Regions from separate parts of the Homo sapiens genome. Here all the other regions are linked to region 5. Evidence: promoter capture Hi-C in 16 types of primary human blood cells and fetal thymus (Javierre and others, 2016). All regions are on one chromosome and are shown on one strand. Each heading gives the region's core, a stretch centred on a gene start or on the middle of the fragment in contact. The rest is flanking DNA. Distances are from core to core; before and after follow the strand shown.

Region 1 (3,023 bases), core at 481-2,980, 230 kb before region 5:
TGCTCTGCGAGGGACTGTTGAAACACCAAGTATGGCCAAAGAGACAAAATTTTCATTTTATGGATTCAGGATTCAAACCAAGGTCTCAACAGGTTCAGGACTGAAACAGATTTTGAAGGCATGTTGACATGGAGCAGCAACATGTAGAGGGATCAGAAGGTGAAAATTCTCTGCAAATAGGAAACTGGCTATACAGTTTCAAGACAGGTAATTTTTATAACATCATTGCTAAAAAGGGGAAGGAGTACGTGCTAATAAAATGGAAGTCCAAGAAAGCCTTAGAAAGGTCACAGATAACCAAATAACGTGAAGTCTACTTTTGCCTACTCAGAAAAAAAAATAAAAAAAATAGAAATGAGGAAAAATTAGTTCCTCATTCCTGGGACTCTGTCTACCAAAAATTACCAAGTATTTCTAATCTCCCCACAAGACATACACAAATAATTTCAGAACTAAATGTGTGTCTGTGTGTGTGTGTGTGTGTGCATATACAGTTATAGGCTAAGTTAATGGTGAATATTTACATAATTTGAGGATATAAGAAGTTTTCTAAGCATGACACCAATGCAAAAATTATAAAGAATATATAGATACAATTATACAAAATTTAAACATTTTTTTCTTAAATCAAAATAAAATGCTATAAAATTTCAAAAGAAAATGCTATAAAAGTTAAAAGAAAAAATTGTACAAATATTCGGAAAACATGTCTCATGAGAGGTTAATGTCTTCATTTTTAACATCTCTAATGAACTAATGATGATGATTATGATGACAATAAAATCAACTTTCCATTTTAAAAAACAGGTTTGGTGAATTAACACGGGAACAGAAAACCAAATGCTGCATGTTCTCAATTATAAATGGGAGCTAAGCATTGGGTACAAATGGACGTAAAGATGGGAAAAATAGAAACTAGTGACTGCAAGAAGTGGGAGAGAGGGAGAGGGACAAGGGCTGAAAAACTACCCATTGGGTACTATGCTCACTACCTGTGACAGATCATTTGCATCCCAAACCTCAGCATCATGCAATATACCCATGTAACAAACCTGTATATGTACCCCCTGCATTGAAAGTAAAAGTTGAAATTATAAAAAATAAAATAAAAATGAAAATAAAAAACATAGGCTTGGAATACGAACAAGAAATTCCAGTTTTAAGAAATACATAGCCAGTATGCATATGGCAATCTGTACCACCCTTATTTATAATTGTATCAACCCACACTAAAATTTATTTTATTAATGTGGCAAAATTTTATAATAAATGTATTTAAAAGGTTATAAAACCTTATGTTCAGTATTATTCATTTTTTAAAAAAAACACATACATCTAAGTTCTGAAAGAACAGTGTCACTGAAACATAAACAGTGGTTATCTCTAGGCAGAAGGATTATGAATACTTTTTTCTTATTTAGTTTTAAAAATCATGAACATGAATTACTTTTGTAATAAAGAAACCAATTGGCCATTATACCTGTAACCAGGGCCTAACTTCCTATTACACAACGGTTTCTATTTAGAAATCACATTTGACTTACAGTATTTGGATTTTCAAACTCCATGTCAAGAACACAATCTGCCATAAACGGGAAAGCTTTGTGCGCTCCATTTGAATACATAATTTGAGTTGGCTTGTTCCCTACCTGGTGTTCCTGCCCTTCAGGGTAATTCGCATAGTTACCTCCTGGCTTCCTAGATGTAATTACTCTACTAGGAAAAGAAGTATCTAGATTATTATATAAACAAACAGCATAATCATAAATGGTTTCTTCTGGAATTTGGGTTGTTGCCGATTTTTCTTTCATAGCAAAATTAGATTTAAGTAAATTTTGCCTATGCTACATTAGAAGCTTAACACTTTCAAATAAATCAACCACAGGGGCCAGATATAAACTCTAACTTAACCGATTTCTTCCCCCAGTACAGACCCTTCTTTCTTTAATAATCTCGCCCTAGCATCCCCACATATTCAGCCCCACTAACAAACACAATCTGCCACACACACTGTTTTTTAACCAGATGAGGACAAAGAATGAGAAAACATTCCCACAGTCAGCCATAGGACAACACCAGAATGCAAATAAAAGGTAGTTTGACAAAATTTCACTTTTTGCCTCTAAACATTCCAAAAAGTTAGATTATACTCATTGGAGAAGAGGGATGATCTAATACTTTAAGATACTGAAATCCTGAGAATGTTTTTGTTTCTGTGGCCTTTTATGGAAGGAAACTTTGCAGAGGCACTTCATCTTTGTGAAAGTCAAGGTGGCAGATGGGTTTTATATGCCCAACCTGTTATGGCTCTCCTACCACAAAAGTAAGGACAAAAATTATCCATAAGAAGGCATCATTAGCATCTATGCTGTGTACCGTGAGCACATGGTTGAAGTGGAAATGGTTGGCTCTGCTCCTGCTGAACCATATACATGATAGACTATTTTGTATCTTGGAGCCACTGATCACTGCCACTTGTCACCCCCCGAATCTCCTGACTACCATTGCCCCATAAATAGGAAGAAGCCTTTCTTTTATTTTAATTTTAATTTTTTTAAATTTATTTTTATTTATTTATTTTTTATGAAATGGAGTCCCACTCTGTCTCCCAGGCTGGAGTGCAGTGGGGCGATCTTGGCTCACTGCAAGCTCCCAGGTTCACGCCATTCTCCTGCCTCAGCCTCCCGAGTAGCTGGGACTACAGGCGCCCACCACCACACCCGGCTAATTTTTTGTTGTATTTTTAGTAGAGATGGGGTTTCACCGTGTTAGCCAGGATGGTCTCGATCTCCTGACCTCGTGATCTGCCCTCCTAGGCCTCCAAAAGTGCTGGGATTACAGGAAGAAGGCTTTCTTAGGTGAAAATGGCTTCTGTTGTTCTCCACCTCTCGATATTCCGTGAGACCATGTGTGTGTGCACTGACTCACGCATGTGTGGCTGTGAAGGTCTCATTTGGAACCCAAAATGAAATGTTTGCTTGAATCTGGCAGAATCTGGCCGGTAACGATGGAAGATATTTCAT
Region 2 (2,878 bases), core at 176-2,675, 170 kb after region 5:
TCACCTATTAACTAAGCCTAAAAATCAGCCGGGCGCGGTAGCTCACACTTGCAATCCCAGGACTTTGGGAGGCTAAGGCGGGCAGATCATGAGGTCGGGAGTTAGAGACCAGCCTGACCAACATGGTGAAACCCTGTCTCTACTAAAAATACAAAAATTAGCCAGGCATGGTGGTGCACGCCTGCAATGCCAGCTCCTCAGGAGGCTGAGGCAGAAGAATTGCTTGAACCTGGGAGGTGGACACTGCAGTGAGCCAAGATCACGCCTCTGCACTCTAGCCTGGGTGATAGAGAGAGACTCTGTCTCAAAACAAAACAAAACAATCATTTCCAGTTAGTAAGCCTACTCCCCAAGATCCTCTCAGCCCTAAGCTAGATGTCCCCCATATGCCCTGTAACATCCCTGCATCTGTGTACCACAGCACCTACCAAACTGTGTTATAGTAATCTGAACTCCTCTACTGTAGGCTCCTGACCAAATGTCATTCATCTTTGTACACTGAGAACCTAGACCCTGCCTGGCTGTGGCTGGCCCTCAGGGAATGTTGACTGAATAAAGACATTTGTTGGTAAAGTCAAGATGAGACCTGGTGGCTCTTTCCACTGCTGTAGCTGATGGCCTCTCCTGATAACGTAACCTCTTATTTAGAAAATAACTACAGAGAAACAAGTACAATTCATTCTCCTGAGTAATTCAGTAACACCCAAGTTACCGCCAACTTTCTGGGATGGAGAAGGCAGTGGAGAAATGAACTGCAAAAAAAGAAAGGCCTTCTTCTTCTCCTTTCATAGACATCTGTTATTTTTACAACAAATGAGGAGGACTCTTCCTGGCAGTTTGAGTGACCACAATTTAAATCAATCCATTGAGAACTCATGTTTTATATTACAGTGACCTACATGCTGGTAAGACCTTGAGGACAAGCAGTCTGCAATGGAAAAAAAAATATTTGAAGGCTATGTCCTCAGCTCCATGACTTTTCTAGGCCTGGTGGAAGGCAGGCTCAGCCAGAGAGGAAATATTTTTAGACACGGCTGCTTCAGAGTTGTAAAAATAGGCTAAGTGACTAGCACATTTGTCAAAGCCCCAGAGCACTCTGACCACAGGACCAAGTAAACATGCCAAGCAGAAGCACACTGGATTTATTTATCTTTGTAAATGTATCAAGAAGATTTGAAGCAGCTTTCTCCGAAGCACAACTTGAGTGGTGAGTCTATGAGACCTACATCAACTGGTCTGGTGACTGGTCTCCCTCCCATCTCCTCCCTCAACAGTTCCACTGGATGTCCCATGTGCCTAGACATTACAAGGAGGGCCACCGTTTTCATCCTCTCTCTGGAAAATCCCAAAGTTATGCAAACTATCTACCACACATGATTTCTGACTTTCTTCAGATCCCCAGAATAAGTAGACTGAGTCAGAGCTCCCTGAGGCCAACTGTGCTTCAGAGGCTGCAGCGCCTTAACAGCAAGGCCTGCCTTTTACGGTTGTCATGGTTTGATCCAGAGAGGAAAAAAGTCATACATCAGTTGCATCTCTCAGGGCTGGCATTTCTGGGTTTATGATTGTCTCTGGTTGTGTAATGTCTTGAACTCTGCCATCAGCACAAGTTGTCTTCCCTGACTTCAACAATTAGCAAAAGCTGTTCTGTTGAGGATGTCAACCACCACCACCACAACCAGCTGGTTTGTTCTTTTTTTTTTTTTTTTTGAGAAGGAGTCTTGCTCTGTTGGCCAGGCTGCAGTGTAGTGGTGTGATCTTGGCTCACTGCATCCTCCGCCTCCTGGGTTCAAGCAATTCTTCCACCTCAGTCTCCTGAATAGCTGGGACTGCAGGCATGTGTCACCATGCTCAGCTAATTTTTGTATTTTTAGTAGAGACAGGGTTTAACTTTGTTGGCCAGGCTAGTCTCGAACTCCTGACTTCAAGTGATCTGCTCGCCTCAGCCTCCCAAAGTGATGGGATTACAGGCGTAAGCCACCATGCCTGGACTGGTTTTTTTCTTCAAACAGTTAAATTAATTGGACAGACTCCTTTATTAGACTTCGAATTTTACATTTCAAAAAGTATTTCTAAAAGGCAAAGAAAGTGTGCGCCCATTTTTAGACTAGAATTGTGTTACATAGTTTTTTTTTAATTCAGTAAGTGTGTAGGTTTCATAATAACCCAGATAACCTCTCCCAGACTTCTCACCTCCCACAAATTCTGAAAAGGTAAAGGGATAACCAGACATGTCAACAGCATCGTTATATTTAAGAATCCCTGGAAGATGTTGCTATGATGGACACTTTCCGGGTAGAGGAGAGTTATAAATCCAAATGCCTCTCCAGGAAGACTAATATGACAATGTTTGCCATGATGAGTGGGTTTTTTCTTTTAGTTTTTGCTGAAAGGACCAATTAAGAGGCTCCCATGACAATTCAGGTTAACACACCTGGTCTAGGAACTGCAAAGGAGAGGGCAGAGGAAAGAGCTCTCCCATGACCAAAAAGTTACAGAGCCTTTTCTGGTATGGAGACACTGATTGTGATCCCATCTTCAGAGTACATGTGGCTGGAAGAACAACTGCAGCAACAGGAGGGGCAAGCTCTCTGGAAAAAGCTGGAGGGGAAATAATGAATTAGATCTTGGCAGGTGAGTTTGAGTCTACCATGGGCAGAAGGATGGCAGCACAGCACCCTGATGTAGACGACCAGCAGGTAGACTAACTTTGAGTCCAGAGCCAAGGAGACGTCAACCTGGGATGTACTGATTCCAGAGAGCCACAGAGGATCCCCTGCCATGGATGCCACACTTCTCCCCACAATACAGCACTTGCCAGAGGTGCAGGCAGAACTGAATTCAGGCTTGGGGATTTACAGGCAGCAGAACAGAAGAG
Region 3 (3,193 bases), core at 339-2,838, 160 kb before region 5:
CTGGGTCGATATCAAGGGCCTATCTTACCTCAGTGTCCACATTTCTTTTCCAAGCCTCCACCCTATGTGCTTGGGCTCACCTTGTTATTTACTGAGCTACAAGCTTCTGTTGTGAGTTGAGGGATGATAAGAAAGGGCAAACGAGGAAGGAAGGGGAAGGAGGAGGAGTGGGAAGAGCAGGAAGGAGGAGGGCACTACAAAAATAGTAATAACAAATATGGATCCTGTGAAGACTGGACCCCTTTGAAGATAGTTTTGTTATGAAGTCAAGAGACCATAAGATGGGAGGGAACCTGGTTATCAATTCATTGGAATAAACCCATGGGGCATATTTATTTGCAGTAATTAAAACCATTAGAAGTGAGAACTTTTATGCAAAGTTTAGAAAATACATCAGAAGAAAAGATGTCAGAACTGTGTGGCTATTTTATTTAACAGATCAGTGCAAACAACATTTTTATCATCTTCATGAATAAAACAGTAGGTTTAAAAATTATAGACTAGTTTAGATTGGCAAGGAGGTAAATATGAAATAGGGCTTTATCAAAAAAGAACACAGGATTACCTAAGCAGCAATTCTTTTTATTTGTTAGTCAAGAAAGGTTATCATTGATAAGGAATGCAGCTACAGGACATCCTGTAGCTAGGTTTCAAAAAATCATCTGATACAATGAGTAGTCAAGTAATTCAGCTATGAAAGATTTTTCCTCCATCTTTTATTTTAGATTCAGGGGTACACGTCCAGGTTTGTTACAAGAGTATATTGTGTGATGATGAGGTTTAGGGTCCAGTTGAACCCATCACCCAGGTACTGAGCATAGTACCCAACAGGTAGTTTTTCAGCCCTTGTCCCCCTCCCTCCCTCCCTCCTCCCTCCCTCCTCCCTCCCTCTAGTAGTCTCCAGCATCTATTGTTCCCATCTTTCTGACCACGTGTATCCAATGTTTAGCTCTCATTTACAAATGAAAACATACGGCGTTTGGTTTTCTGTTTCACATTAGTTCACTTAGGATATTGGCCTCCAGCTGCATCCATGTTGCTGCAAAGGACATGATTTCATTCTTTTTATGGCTGCAGAGTATTCCATGTTGTATGTGTACCACATTTTCTTTATCTAATCCTCTGTTGATGGCCACCTAGGTTGATTCCATGTCTTTGTTACTATGAATAGTGTTGTGATGAACATATAGCTGTATGTGTCTTTTTGGTAGAGTGATTTCTTTTCCTTTGGGTATATACTCAGTCATGAGATTGCTGAGTCAAATGATAGTTCTGTTTTTAGTTCCTTGAGAAATCTCCAAACGGCTTTCCACAGTGGCTGAACTACTTTATATTCCACAACTATGAAGGATTTGACGTAATGCAGAGGCAAACATTGCCCCCCCTAACTAGAATCTGCACTCCCAACATATTCACAGCCCACTCCTCCTGGCTTATTTCTTTTCATGCTTTGAAACTCAACTCTGATGTCAACAGTTCTGGAATGCTTTCCTTCACACCTCTTCCTTCCACCTCAATTTCTACTAATTGCCCCTTCTCAATTCACCTTGCATTGGCCCTTTCATAGACACGTTACCAAAGTGGAATTTGTTTATTCATCTTCTTCCCCAATAGACTGTGAGCTCTTCAAGAGCAGGAACTGTGCCTTTAATTTCTGTCTCCCAAAGACTCGATCCAGTCCCTTGAAGATAGCAGGCTCTCAATAACATTCACTCAATGAATGAATAAATGAATGCTGTTTCTCTCTGTAAAAGAGAATTACATGTAATCTCTACAAAGATGAAAAGAATTTGTATGCATAAGAGAATAGTGTCACTGAGCCAAATGTGAAGGACAAGTATGAAAAGGGAAAAGAAATCTGAGTGTCCAAAGGCACAAAGGAAAGTCATCAGAGACTGGAGGAGACAGAAGAGGTGGTAAGCAGGAACTTAAATAAACCACAGGAAATGAAGAAGATAGAGTTCAAGGGCACTATAGGCAAAGAAAGGTATTTCCAGAAGCTAAGGATAAATAAGAAAGTACAAGAAGAAGACAAGAGGAACAAAGTATCCTCTGAGAAGTGAAGACACGGTAGCGGGTTTCACTTAACCTCATCTGAGGTTTCTACAGAGGAAAGATGAATGATGAAGAAATTAGGGAAACTAACAAATTAATGCCTATACCAAGAAGGTATCGAGAGGGCAGAAATGCCAAAAAGAAGAGTGGCATAATAACAGTCAACATTTGTTGGGCATTTTCTCAGGCCACTGTGCTAACTTGTGTGTGTTAACACATTTACTCTTCATAGGTAGGTGCTATTTTATAGATGTGGATACAATGACTCAGAGTAGTAAAATATGTTTAAATTCACAAACTTAGTAAGTTGTGGAGATAAGACTCCAGTTCAAATCTTTCAGTACCTGAAGCTCAAGACCTGAGACAAATAGGCACTGAGGGGAGGGGAAGAAGGAATGACTTACGGAGGAAGCCTGAGTGTACCAAGTACATCCATCAAATATAGGTAATGCATGACTCCCAGTAGAATCCCACGATACAGATAGCATGAGAATGTCAGAATTTGGCTTTCAGCGCTCTAAGGAAGTAACTTAAGGGAAAAAGGAGAAGAACAAATGTTTTCCTCTATGTGGTTAGGGTCAGAGAATTTCTTTGTAGGAAGAGACACAAACATGTTGAGACCTAAAGAAAATAGTACAAGCTAGTAGCAACCACCTGCCTCTCTGCGCGGGGCCCTAGTTTCATAAGAAAGTGAGCAGGTGCTCTACATGATAAAATAGCGGGAGTAATTGAAGTTTCTAGGGGGGAGAAAATGCAATAAGGAGAAGAAGAAGGAAGTAGGCAAGAATGTGGCTCTATAAAGAGAGGCTGGAGGAAAAACATTCCCCCAGCCAAGAGAGCATCCCTGGGAGATGATACAGAAAACTAAAATGTCTAACTGGGATTTACGAAGTGTTTTATTGTGAGTTGTTAGAGTTAGGGATACAGACTCCTGTATGATCTTCAGCAAAGGCAATGAAAAACAGAATTTAACATTCTGAATATGGCTGTGTTTCTTACATAAAATGTTGAAGCTTGCTAGGTCAGAATGCTGGTTTTACATTTGGTCAACAGCCTGTTTGACAAGAGGACAGCTAAATCTGGATTACATTTATAATATATGAATACTTTCAGAGCAAACCCATGAAGCATCACATAT
Region 4 (2,922 bases), core at 267-2,766, 150 kb after region 5:
CTGGTGCTGATTCCAACCAAGATGGACTGTAACAGGGCAGGAAAGGAAAGGATCCCTTACTGACCAGGCTTGGGGGTTTCTGCTTACCTAACAGGCAATACTATAATCTGCTCAAATCAGGGGCGGGTGGGAGGAGAGGAGGAAGAGAAGGGAGAAGAAACCAGTTATTTGGAAAGGAGGGAAAAGAGGTAAAAGGCGAGACCAGTGTGGGTAGGCAGCGGAGAGCCTTCTCTTTCCAGGTATGAGCACATCCACCTTCTCCAACAGCTTCCAAGGTAGGCCATTTAAATGCCAGGGTTTCCTTTTTAAAAAAAAAATGACATTGTTTTAAGGTCTTAAAATTTCAGTTTTCAAAGTTTCTTGCTTTTGGTCATTGGGGAAAATAATATAAACTATTCCCCATTACAGAAGGTAATGAAAAAAAGATCCTCTTCCAATAACAATGTGTGTGGCCAACACAAGCACTGTTCAACCACACAACCTGCACCACAAGCACCTGGAACCACAAAAACAGAGCAGGGACAGCCTGGGCCCAAGGCTGTGCCAGCTGTGGCTCCACACTCCCGTTAAGAAAAGAAAGTGTTATTTTAAAGATTAGTATTACAATCGTAATACCCCTTTTTGTAGAATGTTTGAAGGGCCATTCACCTGCAAAAAGGGGAAACTTGGGCACATTTGGTAAAATAAAGTGACATCAGAGCCCAGTTCCAGGTATCACCAGTCCAGGGCACTCTGGCACATTTTATCAGAAGGAGGAAATGATCTCTCCCCAGCAGACCTCTGCTTCTGCCTCTCCCAACAGGGTCAGGCTGACTTTGTTCCTAAAAGTCTCACACTGTCTTCAGAGAATACTAAACACATAGGACAGTCTTTTCATCCACAAACAAAATGTACTCTGGGCTGGGCACGGTGGCTCACACTTGTAATACCAGCACTTTAGGAGGCCGAGGCAGGTGGATCACTTGAAGTCAGGAGTTCGAGACGAGCCTGGCCAACATGCCCCGTCTCTACTAAAAATACAAAAATTAGCTGGGCATGGTAGCGCATGCCTGTAATCCCAGCCACTAGGGAGGCTGAGGCAGGAGAATTGCTTGAACCTGGGGGGCAGAGGTTTCAGTGAGCTTAAGATCATGCCACTGCACTCCAGCCTGGGCGACAGAGCGAGACTCCGTCTCAAAAAAAAAAAAAAAGTACTCTTACATGTTCCTGGAAACACTTGTCTTGAACCATCTTTTGTTTTTTTCATTCGGACACTCAGGTACCAAAAAAACTACTTTTCTCTTAAATGTTCTAAAAGAAAATCGACAACACAAGCACAGTGATTATTAGCAATGGCCCCAGACCCTAGTATAAAGAAGACAAGAGGGTTGGTGGGGATGGCAAAGGATTCAAGAGTCTGTACTTTGTCTAAAGGGGAAAGTCAGGACTTCGATCTGGCTGCCTGTGCGTCTGGTCATACTTTTCATTTGTGTGTCTTAGGCTGCTGCTAGAGAAGTCATGTTCTCTCCAGGATGCAACTGTTTCATCAGGGCTTCCAACCCGAAATGTATCACTTGACTATATTTTCTTCTCCCATTATAGGATCGAACTGTAAAATTTGTCAGTAAAGTACCTCTCAATACGGCTGCTTAAAAATTGTAGCAAGCATTCAATAATGGTGGTGATCTAAAACAAAAACAAACAGTGCCAAGAAAGGTGGAGAAGGTCAGCAGCAAAGTCACATCTTTGGTATGACTATGGGTCATGCCTTCTTTTCACACCTCATATCTGTTTTGCATCAATTCAGGTTAAAGAGCCTAGTGTAGTGCCTGATACACAGCAGGCACTCAGGAAATGTGAGCTAAATGAAATGAGTTTCCTAAACAACTCTGTACAATAGGTACCAGTGCTGCTGCTCCTATTTTACAAATGGGGGAAGCTAGTCTTAGAGAGTTAGAGCCAGAAAGGTCTAGGAAATTATTTACCCCAATCACCTCAACTTGCATTACAGATGACGAAACTGAGGACCTTTCCAAGGCTGGAGGTGGTGAGGGGGTCAGCACCAGGCCCAGGCCTCCTGACTTTCTCCAGTGATCCTTCTTCTGTACCAGACATGGACAATGGAGGGCAGTCAGGCCTTTCACTGTCACCAAGAGCGACCAATCTTTTCAATAAAGATCAAACTGCTTGACAAAACTCCCTTTTTTGGGGTGGCTGTTTATTATCCCAGAGGGCTCCCTGCTGGCCTGGGAGCCAGTCCCGGTACCACAAGTATATTCTGTTTTTGTCAGATGTCTCTGTAGCCTCTAGATGCCAGTGTGAAATGCACGAGGACACTGATTGGCAGTGATGGACAGATGACAGAAAGGCAAGTCTCTTCTCTTTGTCAGGGGCAGGGCCTCTCTGGCCACAAGGCCACCCATCTCTGAAGGTTAACATTCCGACAAGCTGGTATGCAAGTGACTCTCTTTAGCCACTGCCCACCGGAAGTGCCCTGAGAATTGCTTTTGTCATATAATCTTATTCTGCCATTCAATTCCAACCAAGAAGCATGAAAATATAGTCAAACAAGTCACTAGAAGAGCACTGATCAGTGGGTCAGGTGTCACACACTCGAAGGCTCTGGATCCCAAGGTACATTCTGCCAGGAAGAATTCCACCAGGAAGCCAGCCAGCTAAGAAGTCAATGCTCCTTTAACACTCCCAAGAGTACTTCGATTGAACCCAGATGAAGCTCAAAACAGGAAAGTCCTCTCTGTCTATAGGCATTCCCTTCAATTACACCATTCTGTTTGCTCCATCCAAAAAAGGAGGAAACACAGAACTGCTCTGAGGGTCCTTGGCAGACAGTTAAGGACACGTAGGGTACTCCTATGCCCGAGAGTGGAGCACAGAAGTACCCTACATGTCCTTAACTGTCTGCTGTCAGATGTCTCTGCAGCC
Region 5 (3,197 bases), core at 364-2,863:
CCCAAAACCAAGACTCGTCCTACAGGATCTGGGAAAAGAAAAAGAAAAAAAAGCCCTCAATCACCACCTCCTTCTCGCCGACTCCCCCTCACCCCCCGCCTCCCCTCCAGCGGGCAGCCAAGGAGAGCTAGAGGCGGGGGAGGGGAGAGGGAGGAGAAGCGACGCAAGTGGGTAGCTTTTCAGCGCCGGCGAGGCGCGGGAGGAGGAGAAGCAGTGGGGAGGCGCAGCCGCTCACCTGCGGGGCAGGGCGCGGAGGAGGGACCCGGGCTGCGCGCTCTCGGGCCGAGGAACCAGGACGCGCCCGGAGCCTCGCACGCGGCCAAGCTCGGGGCGTCCCCTCCCCTCGGCCGGGCGAACTCAAGGGGCGCAGCTCTTTGCTTTGACAGAGCTGGCCGGCGGAGGCGTGCAGAGCGGCGAGCCGGCGAGCCAGGCTGAGAAACTCGAGCCGGGAACAAAGAGGGGTCGGACTGAGTGTGTGTGTCGGCTCGAGCTCCGGGCAGAGGCATTTGGGCCCGAGGCCCCCGCTGTGACTCCCCGAGACTCCGCAGTGCCCTCCACTGCGGAGTCCCCGCGCTTGCCGGCAAAAACTTTATTCTTGGCAAACTTCTCTTTCTCTTCCCCTCCTCCTCGGCCCCCATCTTCTGCTCCTCCTCCTTCTCTAGCAGATTAAATGAGCCTCGAGAAGAAAAACCGAAGCGAAAGGGAAGAAAATAAGAAGATCTAAAACGGACATCTCCAGCGTGGGTGGCTCCTTTTTCTTTTTCTTTTTTTCCCACCCTTCAGGAAGTGGACGTTTCGTTATCTTCTGATCCTTGCACCTTCTTTTGGGGCAAACGGGGCCCTTCTGCCCAGATCCCCTCTCTTTTCTCGGAAAACAAACTACTAAGTCGGCATCCGGGGTAACTACAGTGGAGAGGGTTTCCGCGGAGACGCGCCGCCGGACCCTCCTCTGCACTTTGGGGAGGCGTGCTCCCTCCAGAACCGGCGTTCTCCGCGCGCAAATCCCGGCGACGCGGGGTCGCGGGGTGGCCGCCGGGGCAGCCTCGTCTAGCGCGCGCCGCGCAGACGCCCCCGGAGTCGCCAGCTACCGCAGCCCTCGCCGCCCAGTGCCCTTCGGCCTCGGGGGCGGGCGCCTGCGTCGGTCTCCGCGAAGCGGGAAAGCGCGGCGGCCGCCGGGATTCGGGCGCCGCGGCAGCTGCTCCGGCTGCCGGCCGGCGGCCCCGCGCTCGCCCGCCCCGCTTCCGCCCGCTGTCCTGCTGCACGAACCCTTCCAACTCTCCTTTCCTCCCCCACCCTTGAGTTACCCCTCTGTCTTTCCTGCTGTTGCGCGGGTGCTCCCACAGCGGAGCGGAGATTACAGAGCCGCCGGGATGCCCCAACTCTCCGGAGGAGGTGGCGGCGGCGGGGGGGACCCGGAACTCTGCGCCACGGACGAGATGATCCCCTTCAAGGACGAGGGCGATCCTCAGAAGGAAAAGATCTTCGCCGAGATCAGTCATCCCGAAGAGGAAGGCGATTTAGCTGACATCAAGTCTTCCTTGGTGAACGAGTCTGAAATCATCCCGGCCAGCAACGGACACGAGGTGAGCGGGCCGCTGCCCCAGTTCCGAGAGGCGTGGCGGGTCCCTGGGAAACTCAGAGAGGGAGGAAGGGAACGAAGGCGCCCGGCCGCCCGGCTGAGGGTCCCGAGTAGATCCCTCGTTTGTTTTGGGGTGTGTGCGTAGCTGGGCCCCCGGTCCGCAGTGTGTGTGTGTGTGTGTGTGTGTGTGTGTGTGTGTGTGTGTGTAGGATGGGAGGTAGAGGGGCAGGGTAACTTATTCCAAATGGATCAGTTTAGGGGGTTCGGTGGCTGAACGGTTGGTTCGCGGGCAGGAACCCACAATGTTTCGCCTTCGGTCTTTTTGTTGGGCTGAGGGGTGCCGTGCTTTAAAGCGAGTAGGGCTGAATAACGCTACTGATAAATTCTTCCGTGGGACGGAAAACAAAGTGCACACGCTATCTCTTGGTAGATGTCTCTGCAAAAGTGCGTTAAACCACCAAAGGCTTAGGTGGAGACGAGCAGAGCCACAGGCGGGAGGAAGGGGAGGCGGGCGTGGGCTGGGGCAGGCGGGGCCGTCCCTACCACCGGTGAGCCGGGCCGCGGGGAGCAGGCCGGCCGATGGGGCGCGCACCCGGGCTGCGGGGGCGGTGCGGGGTTCAGTCCCTGCGGCCCCAGCGCCTGGGCTAGCAGCTGGGAGCTGTGGGTGCGCCGAGCCGACCCACCGCAAGGGTACACCCTGGCTGTACCGCCCCCAACTCTAGTTTTCTCCAACCGCCATCACTTGGAAACAAACCCACAACTTTTATTTGGGGTTTGGGACCGGATCAGGCCTTAAATCTACGCAGAAGAAAGGCGGAGAAGCAGCGGAAGCCGGGCACTAGTCCTGCAGGGTGGAAGGCGCTTTATCGGGTCTTCTGGCCCGCTGCGGGCGATAGAGCTGGTAACCTGAGTAGAGTAAATAGAGACACGTGGGTGCTGGCTAGAGAAAGCGCGGAGCAGGGCCGCGCTGGAGGGCTGTTTGAAGCCTAGTCCAGAGCTGGTCTAGGGGGCGGATGGACCCTGATACCCGACACTCCACTGGTCACCCTTGTTCCACAACTGGGAAACCCTCTGGAGGAAATCCGGTAGAAAAGTCCTGACACCCGAATGATTTAACCAACGCCTTTTCCCTCCAAAGAAACTTGGAGGATATACCTTTTTTTCCTTAAATGGCATCTTTCTACCCCCAAAAAGAAAGTGTGTGGTTTTGAGGGCGGGGACATTTTGGGTTTTAAACAGCGCGTTTAAGAACACCTCAGATCTGCCTTCTCTATCCCAATGGCAGAGGTGAGTACGAATTTTGAAAGGCTGGGGGCCTGCGTTCAGAGAACAGAATGGTGTTCTTTACCCGTTGAATCCAGTTTGAGCGGGCTGGGGGCGGGGGTAGGGTGCACCTAACCCCGCGTAAAAGATTTGTGACTACTGTGTGCTGGGAAAAGGAGGTCAAAGGGAGGACACACGTCCAGAGAACCGAATAACATCCAAAACACAGGCTTTTTGCCAAACTCTCCTATTTGTAGAGCAGCCTCTCTTTCTACCCATTTTGCTAGTCCTGCCTTAGTCCATAAATAATTTTGCCACCCACTTCATATTCTCCACAATTTTCTGGTCCGGGTGA
Region 6 (2,739 bases), core at 8-2,507, 210 kb before region 5:
CAGAACTGTGAGCCAAATAAACTTTTGTTCTTTATAATTTACTCAGCCGGTCGCATTTTGTTATAGCAGCAAAAAATAGACTAACAGATAGACCTTAAACAGTTAGCAAATTTATTTAAACTTAAACAAAAGTGTGTAAAAGATAACTTTTTAATTTTTAAATTTCTTCTGAGAAATATGCAAAACTGACAAGGCTTCATATAGAAAGATTTCCTTCCAAGTTATCTTAGCTCCTTTCACTGACCTTTGGGCAAGCTGACTCCTGAATAACCTAAAGTCCTTTAAGTTGACAATCTTTGGTTTCCTGACCCAGACTGATCCCCTCAGATGCTGTTACTGATGGCAAATGTGGCTACTTCAGGGTTTTAAGACTCTTTGGCCAGTTGACACTCCAGGGTGCTTTGATAAGCTCCTCACCCTGTAACAAGAGACTGACAAGAAGGCAACACCTGAACATGTTCAGGGCTTGAGTCCACAAAGGAGAGCAAGTCTGGGAGCTATGTGCATCTAGTTAAGAACAGGAATAAGCACAAAACAATATTAACTTTAGAAATGAGATGAAAGCCCATGTGTGCTGGCTTTCACACGGAAGGGGAGACCCAATGAACCTCCACCCCCTTCAGCACTGCTTTTAGATGGAAATGATTTTGTTGAATACTGACACAAAAGGAAGATACAAATGAAGTGAAGAGCCTTAGCGAACAATTACATGCAAGTAGGTTACATGAAAATATAGTCTCAAGTGTATGATATCTTGTGAATATTAATTAAGGAAATTATTCTCAGAGCAGCTAGTGTTTAAAACAAGATCTAATCTCTGCTGAGTGGCCCCACCATTCTTCCTCTCAATGTTTAACTTCAAAGGGCTTTGGAGTTGGGGCAAATGAGATTATTATTACTTCAATCTAGGGAAAACGTATTCTAGCCAATTTGATGATAAATTCTAGAATTACACATAGCAGTTAATACAAAGAAGAAAAAAATATTCTATACCCATGAATGTCTGTCTGCTTAAAAGAAAAGGTTTTTAAACCTTATCTAATCTACTCTGTTCCCCTACAAAAATTGCACAATTCAAATATAGAGCTGGAGAAGGATATGGCCCAGTCGAAGATATAATTTTTTTTAAAAAAGCTGTTCTCCTCTATCAATTTGGGACCATTGGAAATAATAATATCACTAATAATAATAGCTAATGCTCATATACATCTGTGTGTCAGGTGCTAAGTGTTTTGCTTATATTAACTCATTTAGTCTATGAGGTACTGCATGGTAAACAAACATGGAGAGGTAAAGTGACCACAATGGTTCAGATATGGAGCTGGGATTTGAATCCTATCACCAGACTCAGAAGTTTAACCACCATGCTATGCTGCCCCATAGTTACAGCTCATGTAGAAAAAAGGCAATATTTCTCTCTGTCAATCAGGATAGTTGTCTGATGACCTGTACAACTCAGACTAGGAGGATAAAGGCAAGTCTTTAAAAAACAAAAGACAGGCACCATATTAGGTAGTGCCAGCAAAACTGAATTATATTCACAGATTACTAAGGACGCCCATATGGATTTGGCAGATGTGTAAGTTTGAGGAAAGATAACCAATTACCTAATGTTAAAAATTTAGCTGTTGGTGAAATCAGTGCTGCTGCCATTCAACGTATTCAACTGTAAACAGATGCTGAGTAGGGATAGGTATTGAAGCACCCAGATGCTGAACGGATACAGTTACAATGGGATGAGAGGTGCAGACAGTGAATCAAGACAGAGCGGCTGCAGATGTGTGCCGGCCATGGATAAAGGAGAGCATATCCATGCGGGGGTCCCCAGCAGACTTTTAGACTGCCATGGTGCCTGGATCCTCAGCTGTCACACTCCACAGAGAGTGTCGGAGGTAAATGGAAGTGTATTCTGCCATTCTTGGATCAACCTGAGACCCAGAAAAGTCAGGCACCACCAGTTAAAACGAAGATCTGGAGAATGCAAGGTGCCTGGAGGTGGGGGCTTTTCAGAGCCAGCCTCCCCACCTGCCACTTGCCCTGCACAGCAGCCCCACAAGGTCACTCCTGGTTTTCGCATGTGCTGTGCAGTGTTCCCCTGCATGCCTTTGGCAATGCTGTTTCCTCTCTCCCTGATGCCTTCCCCGCAACCACCTCTCTAGGAGATAAAACGCTTCTTGTGATTCCAGACCTCCAATCTCAGAAACTGAGATTGCCCTTTCCTTTACTGTGGATGTATAGCCTTTAGTTCCATTCCAGCACTTATTATTACATCTGCTTCTGCTTCTGTCTCTCTCCTTTGCTTAACGAAGGATTTGAAAACACGATCCATGTCTTTTGCATTTTTATATCTGCTGGCTCCCAAAACAGTGCCAGGCACATCGTAGGTACTCAGCAAATAATTGTAGAGTGAATGTTTATTGCAGGGAAATCTGAAGGCCCAGAGATATGTTTTCTTTGGTCTACAAATGGCTTAAAAATAATAAATATGTTGCAAATATTTACAGTTTCAGAGATTTCACAGAAAAAAAAGGTTGTTGTCTTCTCTAGAAAGAAAAAAAAAATCTGGCCACACTGGGCTTGAATCACACCTAACATCAGTTAGAATTGAGTAGTGGCTGTCCCCTCTGGACAAAACATTCACTTGGAGATTTGCTTCGGTCTCTACCCCTCCCCAGGTATTTTTGCCTTACAACTGCCCTCTTCCCTCCTTATGAAACCCACTTCACCCCTGTTAAGCAA

Evidence for each region. The method cuts DNA at HindIII sites, captures the fragments that hold promoters and counts their contacts. A CHiCAGO score of 5 or more calls a contact.
Region 1: a contact is called between a fragment that was not itself captured here and the fragment with the promoter of LEF1-AS1 in region 5, in 5 of 17 cell types (fetal thymus, non-activated CD4 T cells, total CD4 T cells and 2 more). The highest score is 8.7, in fetal thymus.
Region 2: a contact is called between a fragment that was not itself captured here and the fragment with the promoter of LEF1-AS1 in region 5, in 1 of 17 cell types (naive CD4 T cells). The highest score is 6.2, in naive CD4 T cells.
Region 3: a fragment that was not itself captured here is called in contact with the fragment with the promoter of LEF1-AS1 in region 5 in 5 of 17 cell types (non-activated CD4 T cells, activated CD4 T cells, total CD4 T cells and 2 more); the score reaches 8.4 in non-activated CD4 T cells.
Region 4: a fragment that was not itself captured here is called in contact with the fragment with the promoter of LEF1-AS1 in region 5 in 7 of 17 cell types (fetal thymus, naive CD4 T cells, non-activated CD4 T cells and 4 more); the score reaches 13.0 in fetal thymus.
Region 6: a fragment that was not itself captured here is called in contact with the fragment with the promoter of LEF1-AS1 in region 5 in 1 of 17 cell types (non-activated CD4 T cells); the score reaches 5.9 in non-activated CD4 T cells.

What each region holds. Positions count from the first base shown.
Region 1 is chr4:108,400,515-108,403,537 of GRCh38, reverse strand. It overlaps the pseudogene ZACNP1. Among named protein-coding and RNA genes, the nearest start is that of RPL34-DT, 220 kb to the left of the region's middle. The HindIII fragment of the contact is 256 bases long and covers 1,603-1,858 here.
Region 2 is chr4:107,995,726-107,998,603 of GRCh38, reverse strand. All of the region lies in intron 1 of HADH (hydroxyacyl-CoA dehydrogenase), which reads right to left. Among named protein-coding and RNA genes, the nearest start is that of HADH, 7.3 kb to the right of the region's middle. The HindIII fragment of the contact is 5,569 bases long and covers 1-2,878 here.
Region 3 is chr4:108,327,350-108,330,542 of GRCh38, reverse strand. No RefSeq gene overlaps it. Among named protein-coding and RNA genes, the nearest start is that of LEF1, 160 kb to the right of the region's middle. The HindIII fragment of the contact is 2,965 bases long and covers 106-3,070 here.
Region 4 is chr4:108,015,825-108,018,746 of GRCh38, reverse strand. All of the region lies in intron 3 of HADH (hydroxyacyl-CoA dehydrogenase), which reads right to left. Among named protein-coding and RNA genes, the nearest start is that of HADH, 27 kb to the right of the region's middle. The HindIII fragment of the contact is 3,162 bases long and covers 1-2,922 here.
Region 5 is chr4:108,165,941-108,169,137 of GRCh38, reverse strand. It overlaps LEF1-AS1 (LEF1 antisense RNA 1), which reads right to left and starts at 1,613. Exons shown (of 3, transcript NR_029374.1): 1 at 1,305-1,613. It overlaps LEF1 (lymphoid enhancer binding factor 1), which reads left to right and starts at 206. Exons shown (of 12, transcript NM_016269.5): 1 at 206-1,583. The coding sequence starts at 1,371. It overlaps LOC124900752, which reads right to left and starts at 1,199. Exons shown (of 2, transcript XM_047416528.1): 1 at 236-1,199; 2 at 1-28. The coding sequence starts at 638. RefSeq lists silencers at 207-256, 2,013-2,252 and enhancers at 517-606, 1,634-2,135. The HindIII fragment of the contact is 8,163 bases long and covers 1-3,197 here.
Region 6 is chr4:108,377,629-108,380,367 of GRCh38, reverse strand. No RefSeq gene overlaps it. Among named protein-coding and RNA genes, the nearest start is that of LEF1, 210 kb to the right of the region's middle. The HindIII fragment of the contact is 5,062 bases long and covers 1-2,739 here.